Regions from separate parts of the Homo sapiens genome. Here all the other regions are linked to region 1. The links are contacts of gene promoters, found by promoter capture Hi-C in blood cells and fetal thymus (Javierre and others, 2016). All regions are on one chromosome and are shown on one strand. Each heading gives the region's core, a stretch centred on a gene start or on the middle of the fragment in contact. The rest is flanking DNA. Distances are from core to core; before and after follow the strand shown. Region 1 holds the start of NAT14 (N-acetyltransferase 14 (putative)). Region 2 overlaps PPP1R12C (protein phosphatase 1 regulatory subunit 12C). Region 3 overlaps SYT5 (synaptotagmin 5). Region 4 overlaps PTPRH (protein tyrosine phosphatase receptor type H).

What was found. The method cuts DNA at HindIII sites, captures the fragments that hold promoters and counts their contacts. A CHiCAGO score of 5 or more calls a contact.
Region 2: a fragment that was not itself captured here is called in contact with the fragment with the promoter of NAT14 in region 1 in 3 of 17 cell types (naive CD4 T cells, non-activated CD4 T cells and total CD8 T cells); the score reaches 11.3 in naive CD4 T cells.
Region 3: a contact is called between a fragment that was not itself captured here and the fragment with the promoter of NAT14 in region 1, in 12 of 17 cell types (total CD4 T cells, activated CD4 T cells, total CD8 T cells and 9 more). The highest score is 12.4, in total CD4 T cells.
Region 4: a contact is called between a fragment that was not itself captured here and the fragment with the promoter of NAT14 in region 1, in 4 of 17 cell types (M0 macrophages, M2 macrophages, naive CD4 T cells and 1 more). The highest score is 6.5, in M0 macrophages.

The regions. Positions count from the first base shown.
Region 1 is chr19:55,483,553-55,486,900 of GRCh38, forward strand. It overlaps NAT14 (N-acetyltransferase 14 (putative)), which reads left to right and starts at 1,636. Exons shown (of 3, transcript NM_020378.4): 1 at 1,636-1,706; 2 at 2,109-2,228; 3 at 2,856-3,348. The coding sequence starts at 2,157. It overlaps ZNF628 (zinc finger protein 628), which reads left to right. Exons shown (of 3, transcript NM_033113.3): 3 at 1-935. The coding sequence ends at 821. RefSeq lists a silencer at 1,426-1,845 and an enhancer at 1,946-2,275. The HindIII fragment of the contact is 21,455 bases long and covers 1-3,348 here.
Region 2 is chr19:55,091,044-55,094,391 of GRCh38, forward strand. It overlaps PPP1R12C (protein phosphatase 1 regulatory subunit 12C), which reads right to left. Exons shown (of 22, transcript NM_017607.4): 13 at 3,302-3,348; 14 at 2,110-2,190; 15 at 1,973-2,033; 16 at 1,740-1,825; 17 at 1,579-1,619; 18 at 1,399-1,501; 19 at 1,179-1,283; 20 at 816-866; 21 at 607-657; 22 at 1-515. The coding sequence ends at 429. Among named protein-coding and RNA genes, the nearest start is that of EPS8L1, 17 kb to the left of the region's middle. The HindIII fragment of the contact is 7,228 bases long and covers 1-3,348 here.
Region 3 is chr19:55,173,180-55,176,527 of GRCh38, forward strand. It overlaps SYT5 (synaptotagmin 5), which reads right to left. Exons shown (of 9, transcript NM_003180.3): 4 at 2,826-2,945; 5 at 2,530-2,697; 6 at 1,993-2,160; 7 at 1,703-1,820; 8 at 1,338-1,471; 9 at 1-505. The coding sequence ends at 305. Among named protein-coding and RNA genes, the nearest start is that of SYT5, 5.4 kb to the right of the region's middle. The HindIII fragment of the contact is 439 bases long and covers 1,371-1,809 here.
Region 4 is chr19:55,190,344-55,193,691 of GRCh38, forward strand. It overlaps PTPRH (protein tyrosine phosphatase receptor type H), which reads right to left. Exons shown (of 20, transcript NM_002842.5): 11 at 1,320-1,398; 12 at 1,158-1,205. Among named protein-coding and RNA genes, the nearest start is that of SYT5, 12 kb to the left of the region's middle. The HindIII fragment of the contact is 4,918 bases long and covers 1-3,348 here.

The DNA.
Region 1 (3,348 bases), core at 386-2,885:
CGGCCAGCGCTGGGGCCAGCGGGACAGGGCAGAGCCTCATCGTTCTGCAGAATGTGGGGGGTGGGGAGGCAGGGCCACAGGAAATGAGTGGGGTGCAGCTCCAGCCCCTCCGACCAGCCCCAGAAGTAACCACGGTCCAGCTCCAGCCAGCGCAGGAGGTGACCACAGTCCAGCTCCAGCCAGCACAGGAAGTAACCACGGTCCAGCTCCAGCCAGCACAGGAGGTGACCACGGTCCAGCTCCAGCCCGTGGCCGGCCAGCTCTCCAATTCCAGTGGGGGAGCTGTGGCTACTGAGGCACCCAACCTGCTGGTTGTTCAGAGCGGGGCAGCTGAGGAGTTGCTCACTGGCCCGGGCCCCGGGGAGGCGGGGGATGGCGAGGCCAGCACTGGTGTGGTCCAGGATGTCCTCTTTGAGACACTCCAGACGGACGAGGGCTTGCAGAGCGTGCTGGTGCTGAGCGGGGCCGATGGCGAACAGACTCGACTCTGCGTACAGGAGGTAGAAACACTTCCTCCTGGGCTGACGGAGCCGCCTGCCACCGGCCCACCCGGACAGAAACTCCTCATCATCCGCAGCGCCCCAGCCACTGAGCTGCTGGACAGCAGCAACACTGGAGGAGGCACCGCCACGCTGCAGCTCCTGGCCCCACCGCCGTCAGGCCCAGCCTCGGGCCCCGCGGGGCTCCCCGGGGCTCCAGCCTCCCAGATGGTGCAAGTGGTCCCCGCAGGAGCTGGGCCTGGTGTTATGACCCCTCAGGGCCTGCCCTCCATCCAGATTGTCCAGACTCTACCCGCAGTCCAGCTGGTGCACACGTTTTGAGGAGAGGCAGTGATTCCCCTCCCGCCCCGCACAGAGACCCCGACTCACTGCCAGCCGGGGCGGGGCAGGGTGCCGCAGGCTGGGCTTGCTAATAAAGACCCGAGTCTCCCCGCCTGTGTTTTGTTTTCCTGGGGGGAGGGAAGGGGGCAAAGTCATGGTCCTAGCCCCCGCCTGGGAGCGTGGAGTCTTAAGTCTTGCGTCCTGGGTCGCAGATGGCTTGTTCTGCATCCTGGGGCCAGCCACTACGTAGGGCTCAGTTCCCCTGTCCTGAAACCAAAAAAGGCCGCAGGGGTCATTATAGTGGGGAGGTGGTGACATCAGACTCCAGGGAGTGCTACTTGTTCACTGTAGGTCGCCCCGCTGCCCCCCTCGTGTGAGAAGTAGGGGGATCCTTATGCGGAAGGGTTCTGCGACCCCGGGCGCCCCGTGGGTGGAGTGGGGTCCCTGGGGATGGGGGAGTCGGGCGCCAGGATGCTGAGCGTGGCCGGCTCCTCCCGCGAAGGCCCCGGCACGGATGAGAATCCACGCGCTGGCGTCGCCGCCCGGCGCTCAGGTTGCTCAGCAACGAGGGAACGTGGGGCGGGAGCTCGCGCTGGTCCCCAGCCCGCCGCCCGTCTCCTGCCGGCTTCCGCTCCCGTTCTTCCCCAGGTCCCCTTTCCCCGTTGCTCCTTCTCTAGGGATAGGAGAGGTCGCTTCCCGGCCCTCCGCAGGGTCACAGCTCGGTTCCTCCCAGCCCGCCCTCCGGGGAGCTTAGCAACGGTTGCTACGGCCCGGAGCGGGCGCCGCCCCGCCCCACCGCGCGCGGTCTGACGTCACTTCCGCCCGCGACCCCCTTCCAGACCCGCTCCCGAAACCTTGTCGAAGGACCAAAGGCGACCGGTGCAGGTGCTTGCTGGTCCTTGTTCTTGTGGCGCGGGACGGGGACGACTGTGGGGGAGGGGGCGCTGGGGACCGGGGTGGAGCGAGCGTGGTCCGTTCTCTGGCATGTGGGGAGGGTGTTCGTGGACCCCAGTGCCTGGGAGGGAGCCCCGTGCTGCAGTGTTGGCGTCCGCAGCGCGTTTGGGAGTGTAGATCGCTGAATAATACGGGGGAGGGGGGATCCCGGGAGACTTTAGCAAGGTCGCTGAGTATTGTGGGGGGCGCCTGTCCTGCCGAGATCCTCGCTTGGGGGCCCCGAGGGTTCTCAGTGTCCTGATCTGGGAAGTGCCGTTGCTGCTCCCTACCCCTCGGGGGAGCTTTGGGGACAGAGGTGCCCCCCTGACGCTGACCTACTTATGTTCTCACCAGGTGCACGACGCCAGCTCCCTTCTGGGGGGCCGGGGCCTGGGGGTTGCCATGGCCCCCAGCCACCTGTCAGTGCGGGAGATGAGGGAAGATGAGAAGCCCCTGGTGCTGGAGATGCTGAAGGTGAGAGGCAGGGGCCCCAGGGGGCCTGGGAGTGGCTGCAGTGGGGGAATTGCAAGTGGATTCAGCCACCCCCTCCCACCCACCTGAGCCAGCCTGGACCCCTGGAGCGGGATCTTTTCCTCCTGAGCCTCAGCCGCCCTGCTGCTGAAAACCACAGCAGGTGTGGCAGGTGGGGGCTCACCCCCCCAGCCCTACTGGGACCCCAGCACCAACGCCCTCCCTGGTCTCCCATCTCCAGTCGGCTGTGCACGCCAGCACAACAGCCAGCTCTGTGCCTCGGACCCCAACTCTTCAAAGCACAGCCCAGCACCCCAACCTAGCCCAGCAGCCTCCCTCCAGCCTCCACTCCAGCCTGAGGCAACCTCCCTGTCCTTACTTCCCTGGGGCCTCACTGCGGCATTGCTACTGAATTGAGTGCCCCCACAGCTCCTAATTCACTCATCCATCCATCATTCGCTCTCGTTCATTCATTCACTCCATACCCAGTGTGCCACACTGAACATCGGACTGTGCTGCCTTCCCTTCCCATTTGGGAGCTCTCACCCCGCCCCGGGCAGGGTCTACCTCCTCTCTTTGTCCAGGAGGCCCTAGCGTTTCGGATGGCTGAGCCACCCCTCCTGCCCACAGGCCGGCGTGAAGGACACGGAAAACCGCGTGGCCCTCCATGCCTTGACACGGCCGCCGGCCCTGCTCCTCCTGGCGGCGGCCAGCAGCGGCCTGCGCTTTGTCCTGGCTTCCTTCGCCCTGGCCCTCCTCCTGCCGGTGTTCCTGGCTGTGGCCGCCGTGAAGCTGGGCCTGCGGGCCCGATGGGGCTCGCTGCCTCCGCCGGGTGGCCTGGGGGGCCCCTGGGTGGCCGTGCGGGGCTCCGGTGACGTGTGTGGGGTCCTGGCTCTGGCCCCTGGCACAAATGCAGGGGACGGGGCCCGGGTCACCCGCCTGTCTGTCTCTCGCTGGCACCGCCGCCGGGGCGTGGGCAGGAGGCTGCTGGCCTTCGCGGAGGCCCGGGCTCGGGCCTGGGCTGGGGGCATGGGGGAGCCCCGGGCCCGGCTCGTGGTCCCCGTGGCTGTGGCCGCCTGGGGGGTGGGAGGGATGCTGGAGGGCTGTGGCTACCAGGCCGAGG
Region 2 (3,348 bases), core at 408-2,907, 390 kb before region 1:
GGACCCTATATACAGGCCCACCTGGCTGAGGCTGGCGGGACTCTTGGCACATTCTTGGATCCCTGCTCAGGAGGGGAGGGGTGACGGGGTGGCATCACACGTGAGATGGGGACCTCCAGGCGGCCACTCTGGTCCTGGCTACTGATCCTTGCACTTCTTGGTCCTCAGTTCCTTCCTGGTCCCGTCTCTGGCCCTGGTCCCCTCTGGCAACGTCCCCCTGCTTGGCTCGGCCTCCCACCTCCATCCTGGCCTCGGGTGGCCCCCTCGGCTCCTGGGGACTCTGCTCCCCTCCCAGTCCGGAGGTCCCAGGGGGGCTATGGCTTCTCTGAGACTTCCCCCGGAGCCCTGTCACTCGTGTTCACACGGGGGAAGGGGTGCGTGTGGCAGAAGCAGCTGTATAAATACGGGTGCGGGAAAGTCCCTCCGGGTCACTTGGAGAGTTTGCTGATGACGCGGATCAACGCTGCATTCTCATCCTTGAGGCGCTGGTTGTCAGCGCGGAGGTCAGACAGGGCCTGGGGGACGGCAAGGGTCAGCTGGGCAGCCCTGGCGGGTTGCACCCCCACCCACCCTCGGCCCTCTGCCCACAGCCCCCACAGCCCCCACCTTCAGCTCCTCCTCCAGCTCTGCGGCCTTGCGTTCCAGGGCCCTGCGCTCCTGGAATGAACAGGGAAAGTGCAGAAACTGAGTGAGGCTGAGGAGGGCAGGGGAAGGCCAGGGGCCAGCTGGGAAGGGCAATGTGGCTCCCTTGGTCCAAACTTAGGGATGTGAGGCTGGGGACGCCTCTGGCCCCCATCCCCACTGCCCCTACTCACGAATCTCTCCAGTTCCAGGAGGGCTGGCCTCTCAGCGAAGCGTTCTTGCCTCTGGTGAGGACACAGAAAGCACAGGGGTCAGCAGAAGAAGCCAGCACTGCTCTGAAGGGTCCTAGGCTCCTGCTGGGCACCCGCCCGCCCACTAGGCAGCCCACAAGCCCTTCCCCCACGGGCCAGGCCCCGCCACCGGCAGGCCCACAGCCCCATCCCCTCGCTCAGACTCCGCCTCCGAGATCTCGGCCCCGCCCCTCAAGTGAAGCCCAGCCCCGCCGGCACCCCCAGGCCAGGCTCTACCTCCCAGCAGTCTAAGCCCCACCCAGGCGGCCCTGCCAGTTCCCGTGACCCTGGCCTCGGCGCCCTTACCTGCGTGGCCCGCTCCAGCTCCACCTTGAGCTGCGCCAGCCGCAGCGTGGTCTCGGTCAGGGCCTCGCGAAGCCGCTCGTTCTCCCTGCGCAGCTCTGCATACAGCTGGGGGTCAGGTAGAGGAGGGTCAGGTGGAGGATGGGGCGATGCTGGGGGGGCGGGGAAGCCAGGAAGCTGGGCACCCAGCAGGCAAAGCCCCGACGGAGGGGTGGGATCGCACCGTCCTAAAGCCTCCGTCTGGCTCTTCCGATTCTGGCTCAGGTTCTGGGTTGAGGTCCCGCTGCCACCGCTGCCTGCGGGCCGAGGGGCCGCCCTCCAGGGTGCTGGGGCAGGGGAGGAGCGCGCGTCAGGGGCCGGCCCGGCCCGCACGCAGACCCCACCTCTCCCACCCCGCCCCTACCTGGACTCCTGGCTGCGGTCAGCCGGCTCCGCCTCCTCCCCCTGTGGGCAGGTAGACGGGGGTTCAATGGGTATGGGAGGGACTTTAGCGGGTATGGGAAGGGCTTTGCCCGCCCCCCGGCCCACCCTCTGCACCAGCTCGGCCCCACCTGAGCCCCTCACCTCCGCAGGCCCCCTCCACTCCTTTCCGACCTTGCGGTGCTCCCTGGCCGCCTGCGGTCCCGGACCCTGCCCGTCGGGCGCCTCTGCTGGGGGAGGGGCAGGAATCAGCCCAGGCACCTCCAGAGCCCCCTCTCGGTGCCTGGGTCCCCGGGTCAAGCCCCCAGGAAAGCAAGAAGACTATGGGAGAAACTGGATGATTCCCTGGGAATGACCTCCCCGAGAGCAGACCTCACCTCTCTGGGCAGGGCTGTCAGAGTTCTCCACTCCAGGGACGCGGGGCCTTCGGGAAGGGTCCTGTCGGGAGGGGGAGGCGAGTCAGGGAAGCAGGACATCCCGCACCACCCCACTCGCCCTCGCTGACCCCTCTCACCAGGCTCTGCGCCGGCTTCTCTGACTCTGGGGCCTTCCCTGCAGCCTTCTCTGCCTCCTTCAGGTCTGTAAGAGTCACACCCTGGCAGGGAAAGGGGACAGTCAGGGGACGCTGGGGTCAGGGCCCAGCCCCTCCTCCCTCAGACCCAGGAGCCCAGGCCCCAGCCCCTCCTCCCTCAGACCCAGGAGCCCAGACCCCAGCCCCTCCTCCCTCAGACCCAGGAGTCCAGACCTCCAGCCCCTCCTCCCTCAGACCCAGGAGTCCAGGCCCCAGCCCCTCCTCCCTCAGACCCAGGAGTCCAGACCTCCAGCCCCTCCTCCCTCAGACCCAGGAGTCCAGGCCCCAGCCCCTCCTCCCTCAGACCCAGGAGTCCAGACCTCCAGCCCCTCCTCCCTCAGACCCAGGAGCCCAGGCCCCAGCCCCTCCTCCCTCAGACCCAGGAGTCCAGACCTCCAGCCCCTCCTCCCTCAGACCCAGGAGCCCAGACCCCAGCCCCTCCTCCCTCAGACCCAGGAGCCCAGGCCCCAGCCCCTCCTCCCTCAGACCCAGGAGCCCAGACCCCAGCCCCTCCTCCCTCAGACCCAGGAGCCCAGGCCCCAGCCCCTCCTCCCTCAGACCCAGGAGCCCAGACCCCAGCCCCTCCTCCCTCAGACCCAGGAGTCCAGGCCCCAGCCCCTCCTCCCTCAGACCCAGGAGTCCAGACCTCCAGCCCCTCCTCCCTCAGACCCAGGAGCCCAGACCCCAGCCCCTCCTCCCTCAGACCCAGGAGTCCAGGCCCCAGCCCCTCCTCCCTCAGACCCAGGAGCCCAGGCCCCAGCCCCTCCTCCCTCAGACCCAGGAGTCCAGGCCCCAGCCCCTCCTCCCTCAGACCCAGGAGTCCAGACCTCCAGCCCCTCCTCCCTCAGACCCAGGAGTCCAGGCCCCAGCCCCTCCTCCCTCAGACCCAGGAGCCCAGGCCCCAGCCCCTCCTCCCTCAGACCCAGGAGTCCAGGCCCCAGCCCCTCCTCCCTCAGACCCAGGAGTCCAGACCTCCAGCCCCTCCTCCCTCAGACCCAGGAGTCCAGGCCCCAGCCCCTCCTCCCTCAGACCCAGGAATCCAGGCCCCCAGCCCCTCCTCCCTCAGACCCAGGAGTCCAGGCCCCAGCCCCTCCTCCCTCAGACCCAGGAGTCCAGACCCCAGCCCACCCCACACCTGTGTGGACCTCCGAGACTGGCGCATGAGACGGGAGCGAGCTTTTC
Region 3 (3,348 bases), core at 340-2,839, 310 kb before region 1:
TGGCTGATTGTCAAAGCAGGGGGCAGGACCCGGGGGCAGGAGAAACCAGGCTGCCTTCCCTTCCCGGGGTCCCTGGGGCATCTGGGTGTGTCCGCGAGGGTCGGGGGAGTGTGCTGGAAAGTTGTCGTGATTGGCATCGTTGGGGGTGAGAAGACAGGAATGGTTCAGATGGTTGGGGTGGAAGGTGGGGGGAGGGTAACCGTCAGAGGAAGCTTAAGGGTGGGGCTGGCTTGGCTTTGGCCGGTCTCGGGAGTCTGGGGTCAGGGGCTAGAGTCCAGGCTTGGCCGGGGGCTTGGGGTGGGAGTCAGGGCGCAGGCAGCAGCCTCACTCGGTCCGGGGGCCGCAGCGAGTGCCACTGGGCAATGGGCCGCCGCGGGTTGGCCAGCATGTCCGCCCAGTGCCGCAGGCCAGCCCCGCCGGCGGCCGCCCCCACGGCCACCCTCCCGATGGCCTCGTTCTTGCCCAGCTTGTCGTAGTCCAGCACGGTCAGCTCCACCTGCACCTTCTGGGGTGGGCGCGGGAGGAAGAGGAGAGAGGAGCGTGAGGGGAGGAGGCCCCGGAAGGGGCGGTGTCCGTTTTCACGGCTGAGGGTACCTCTCGCTGCCACCCGAGGGCTCGGGGCCCCGGAGCTCGGGACGGGGGAGGGGGTGGGAGACGAGAGGGACGGAGCCTGCGGCGAGGAGGAGGCTCTGGCGCCTTTCTTCCTGCGCAGCCAGGTTTCTAAGGAAATGAACCCTCAGGACTCGGTTGCGGAGCGGGTGTGTTCGGCGCCTCCTGGGGGAGCAGCCTCCTAAGAGCCGCAAAGCTGCAGAACTTTAACAGGGGCCGGGCTAGGGTAGGCGCCGTCCCTAAAGAAGTGAGGGGAGGTCTCTTTTTCTTAGAACCACGTTCCTGAGGAGGGCGGGGCATCCTGGTCCTGCTTAGGGTGGGGAATCTGGTCCCGCTTAGGAGTGGGGCATCCTGGTCCCGCTTGGGGGCGGGGCATCCTGGTCCTGCTTGGGGGCGGGGCATCCTGGTCCTGCTTGGGGGCGGAGCATCCTGGTTCCGCTTGGTGGGGCGGGGCATACTGATCCTGCTTAGGGTGGAGCATCTGGTACTGCTTAGGGGTGGGACATCCCGGTCCCGCTTAGAGCAGATAGGACACCCACACCCAATTTTAAGGAGTCTCTTCCTGGAGTGGAAGAGGCTTCCTGGTCCTCATAGGAGGAAACAGACTGAGAGCATAACCTCAGACCCCCTCACCTGGTTTCTAGGGAGATGCTAAAAAGTCTCCCTCCGCCTAGCAATGGCGATTACTAAAGGTCTGGGCTCTTGGAGAAGGGCAGGTTTGAGCTCACCTGGACTTGGTCACAGGGCACCTCGAAGCTGAAAGCTTCGTTGTAATAGGGGTTCAGAGTGTTCTTCTTGATGGTGGTTTTCTTCTTCCGCACCTTTTTGCCGCCCTGCAGCAGGTGGACCTTGACGTATGGATCTGGGGAGAGGAAGGAGGAGTCTTATAGCTCCCCACTGCTGGGTTGTTGGACCAACATAGAAACACTGCCTACACCCTTCGGGTCTCCCTAGCTCTATGCCAAAATCCATGCCTTCCACAGCAGCCAGGTCCTCCCTGTCCCCGAAGAAACCCTCGAGGCTCAGAAACTGTCAGAACGAGAACCCACCCCACGCCATCCCCACACACCCCACTCCCTTGCTTCCCACACACCTGACAGTCCTCCTACGTCCATCTTCTTCAGGTTTTTAGCCTCCAGGACGATGACGGTGAGCTTCCCGGCCGTGGGGACATAGCGGAGGGAGAAGCAGATGTCCCCAAGCTTCTCCTGCTGAAAGGAGAGGGGCCCATCACCAGAGCCCCGGCTCCACATCCATGCCTCCTCAGGGGTACAATCCACGCCGCCCTGAGGGTCTGGAAAGCCTATGATCTGATTGGCTCAGGATGTTGTGGGCGGGACTGGGCCTGGGGGCGTGGCTCGGGGCGCGACCGCGCATGCTCACCTCCTCCCGCGGAGCCGCCTGCAGCTCCCGCCAGGCCTGCACTGGCCGCCCCAGGTCCACGGAGCTCATAGGGACCCGCACCTCCCCGATGGCGTCATTGCGAGAGAAGCGGTCGAAGTCGTACACCGCCATGACCAGCACCCTGCCCCCCAGCTCCACGTAGGGGACCTGGAGTGCACAGAGAATCCGCAGTAGAGAGCAGGAAGTCAGAGATAGGGTGAGGCACAGCACAACCAGAAGGAAGGCATGGAGTGAGGCAGCGAGGGTCGAAGCGAACAGTTGGGGGAACTCAAATGGGAAAGTCCAGGGATCCATGCGGAAAAAAATCACGGGTCAGTGGAACCCAAATCGTACCGCCCAAGGACCAGGCTACAGCCCAGGAGTCAGTAGTGCCCAGGGTCCAGTGGAATAGCCCCAGAGCTGGTAGCTGCCACCTGAGCTGTGGCCGCCTCCAGGAAAAGCGGAAGGGGTCGGTCCCTAGTGTTCCAGGGACTGGGCACAGGCTATGGAACACGGGGCCTGAAGGCAGGAGCTCACCTTGAAGGCGAAGGTCTCCCCAAAGTGAGGGTTCAGCGTCTGCCGATGCACCTTGGTCTCGTACCGCCTCCGTTTGTCCGGCAGCAGGTAGACCCGCACATAGGGGTCCGAGGAGCCACCAAGATCCAAGGCTGCCAATCCCATTGCTTGCAGAATGCCCACCAGCAGCTGCAGGGCCCAGGCACAGTGGGGGAGGTGGGGAACACTAGTCTTAGCCTCCCTTCCATGGCTCCTTTCAGAAGGGGTTGGAACCCCCGGGATCCTCCCTCCAAAGCTTCCCCTTCCTCCACACCCACCTGGCCACTCTGGAAGTCATAATCCAGGGAGTACTGCAGTCGTCCTAGCTCATGCTTGTCTGCCACCTGCTGCCCTGGCCCGGATGGTGCTGGCTCCAGCTCCTCTACTTCTGGCTGCACCTTAAGGAGCCAGGGGTAAGGGTGGGTGAAGTCTTCCCCTGATAGCAGTATCCATCAGGCTCAGAAGCCAAGGGAGGCTCACAGGTCCCTTGGGCTATACCTGAGCTCTCACAGGCTAAGCAGATTCAGTATTTGACTAGTGCTGTCTGCCACAGGCAGGAAATAGACGTGGTAACACAGATGCAGTATGTTTGTGAAGGTTTGATTAGTGGTGTCTGCTATGGGCAGGAACTAGACATGTGCTTGTCATGCTTAGATTAAAACAAGTGCTGATAGTGTCCCATTGCCCACAGGAATAATGCAGGTTTTATTTCACATGCTAATGGATGTACTGGGGTGCTAGTCCAAACTGCCATGTTTACTTGTGATCTTAGCACAGCAAAACATGGAGGAGAAATGGCAT
Region 4 (3,348 bases), core at 532-3,031, 290 kb before region 1:
TGGGTGACAGAGCAAGACTCCACCTCAAAAAAAAAAAAAAAGAATATCACAATATTCCTCTACCCTTCCTATCCCCTCCTTTTGCCTTGTCTCCAAGTTTATTTATATATTTTATATATTATAAATTTATATATTATATATTATATAATTTATATATTATATTATATATAATGTATATTTTATATTGTATAATATATATAATATATAATATATTATATATATAACATATAATATATTATATATTATAAATTTATATATTATATATTATATATATTATAAATTATATATATATATAATTTTTTTTTGAGACAGAGTCTCACTCTGTTGCCCAGGCTGGAGTGCAATGGTGCAATCTCAGCTCACTGCAACCTCTGCTCCCGGGTTCAAGTGATTCTCCTGCCCCAGCCACCTGCGTAGCTGGGATTACAGGCGTGAGCCACCATGCCTGGCCCTGTCTGAAAGTTTATATCATATTTTTTATGATCTTTTTTAATTTTTTATTACTATTATTTTTTTGAGACGGAGTCTCGATCTGTCACCCAGGCTGCAGTGCAGTGGCGTGATCTCAACTCACTGCAAGCTCTACCTCCCAGGTTCACGCCATTCTCCTGCCTCAGCCTCCCAAGTAGCTGGGACTATAGGTGCCCGCCACCAAGCCTGGCTAATTTTTTGTATTTTTTAGTGGAGACAGGGTTTCACCACGTTAGCCAGGATGGTCTTGATCTCCTGACCTTGTGGTCTGCCTGCCTCAGCTTCCCAAAGTGCTGGGATTACAGGCATGAGCCACCGCACCCAGCAATCTTGTTTATTGATATCTCCTGTACTAGAATATAAGCCCCTGGCGGGCAAGAATCTTGGTTTCATTTGCTGTTTGTTTGGCACCTGGAACAGTGCCTGATACATGCTGGTGCTCAGCTGATATCTGCTGAATGAATGAATGTCCGGGAGTTGAGACCAGAACTGAATTCGCTGGCCCAGGCTGCTTGGGGAGTGAGTCACGATGGAAGGGCCGTGGTCCCTGTCGCAGAGGCATGGGCCCCTTCTGAGACCTTTGTGGGTAAATGCATTGATCCACCCTCTGACCTAGCTGGCAGCCAGCAAACACCCCTTGATTTGACCAGATTCTTTCCAATGCACCCCCCAGACCTTCTGCTCACCTAAAGACCAGATCCCTGAGTTCTGGTTTCTGCTGCTTCTTCTTATTCCTGGGAAAAGGACGTTAGGATGAGAGGCTCAGGGGGTGAGGCTGCAACCAGCGGTCCTCCTCCTTCTTCTCCAGCCCCCACCCTCCAGGCGGTCAGCCCTGTGCTGAGTCTCACCTCCTCTTCAGGAAGAAAATCAGCAGGCCCACGAGGATGAGAAACAGGAGGATGCCCACAAAGGCTCCGGCAATGACCCCTGTGGGGAGGAGGCATCGGGAACCCTCAGAGCGCAGGTCTGAGCTGCTCATCTGTCTCCAACCCTGCCCAGCCTTTCCTCTTCCCCAGGAGCCTGGTCCAAAGACAGCTGACCCCCGAACATCACACGGTGTGAATTGCGTCGGTCCAGTTATACTTACGCGCTTACCCATGGATTTTCCTCCACCCCTGAGACAGCAAGACCAGCCCCTCTCCTACCTCCTCCTCCTCCTCCGCCTACTCAACGCGAAGACTACAAGGAGGAAGACCTTTATGATGATCTACTTAATAAATAGCGAGTACATTTTCTCTTCCTTAGGATATTCTTAGTAACATTTTTTTCTTTAGCTACTTGATTATAAGAATACAGCATATAGTACGGCCGGGCGCGGTGGCTTACGCCTGTAATCCCAGCACTTTGGGAGGCGGAGATGGGCACATCACGAGGTCAGGAGATCGAGACCATCCTGGTTAACACGGTGAAACCCCATCTCCACTAAAAATACAAAAAATTAGCAGGGCGTGGTGGTGGGCGCCTGTAGTCCCAGCTACTCGGGAGGCTGAGGCAGGAGAATGGCGTGAACCCGGGAGGTGGAGCTTGCAGTGAGCCCAGATCACACTACTGCACTCCAGCCTGGGTAACAGAGCAAGACTCTGTCTCAAAAACAAACAAACAAACAAAAAGAATACAGTATGTAGTACATATTACAGATGAAATGTATGTTGTTTATGTTATTGGTAAGGCTTCCAATCAAGAGTAGGCTATTAGTAGTTAAGTTTTGGGGGAGTCAAAAGTTATGTGCAGATTTTTTTTTCTTTTTCTTTTTCTGAGACAGAGTCTTGCTCTGTCACCCAGGCTGCAGTGCAGTGGTGCGACCTCGGCTCACTGCAACCTCTGCCTCCCGGGTTCACGCCATTCTCCTGCCTCAGCCTCCTGAGTAGCTGGGACTACCGGTGCCCGCCACCACTCCTGGCTAATTTTTTGTATTTTTAGTAGAGTTGGGGTTTCACCGTGTTAGCCAGGGTGGTCCTGATCTCCTGACCTCGTGATCCACCTGCCTCAGCCTCCCAAAGTGCTGGGATTATAGGCATGAGCCACCATGCCCGGCTGTTATATGCAGATTTTCTACTGTGTAGGGGACAATTGTTCAAGGGTCAACTATCCATCATTTTCACAGGTGACCTGGTTGCTGAAGAGTGACTCCTGGCCAGGCATGGTGGCTCACCCCTGTAATCCCAACACTTTGGGAGGCTGAGGTGGGTGGATCACTTGAGCCCAGGAGTTTGAGACCAGCCTGGGCAACATAACAAAACCCAGTCTCTACTAAAAAAACAAAAGTTAGCTGGGTATGGTGGTGCACACCTGTCATCCCAACTACTCAGGAGGCTGAGCATAAGAGTCACTTGAACCCGGGAGGTGGAGGCTGCAGTGAGCTGAGATTGCACGACTGCACTCCAGACTGGGTGATAGAGTGAGACTCTGTCTCAAAAAAAAAAAAAAGAAAAAGAAAGCAAAACAAAACAAAAAGAACCCCAACAAAATAGCTGGGCATGGTAGTACATGCCTGTAGTCCCAGCTACTCAGGGGACTGAGGCAGGAGGATCACTTGAGCCTGGGAGGTGGAGGCTGTGGTGGGCATGATCGTATCACTGCACTCCAGCCTGGGCAACAGAGTGAGACCCTGTCTCAAAAAAGAACAAAACGAAACAAAACAAAAAAGTGATTCTTGCCTTCCTTAGCTTAGACTAGTGGTTCTCAACAAGGGTGATTTTGCTCCCAAAGAGACACCGGGCAATGTCTGGAGACGCTTTTGGTTGTCACAGCTTGGAAGTGGGAGTGCTGCTGGCACATAGTGGGTGGGAAGCAGAGGTGCAGCTCAATATCCTACAATGCGCAGGACGGCCCCCCCACAACAAAGAAGGATCTAGCCGGAAACGTCTGTAGTGCCGA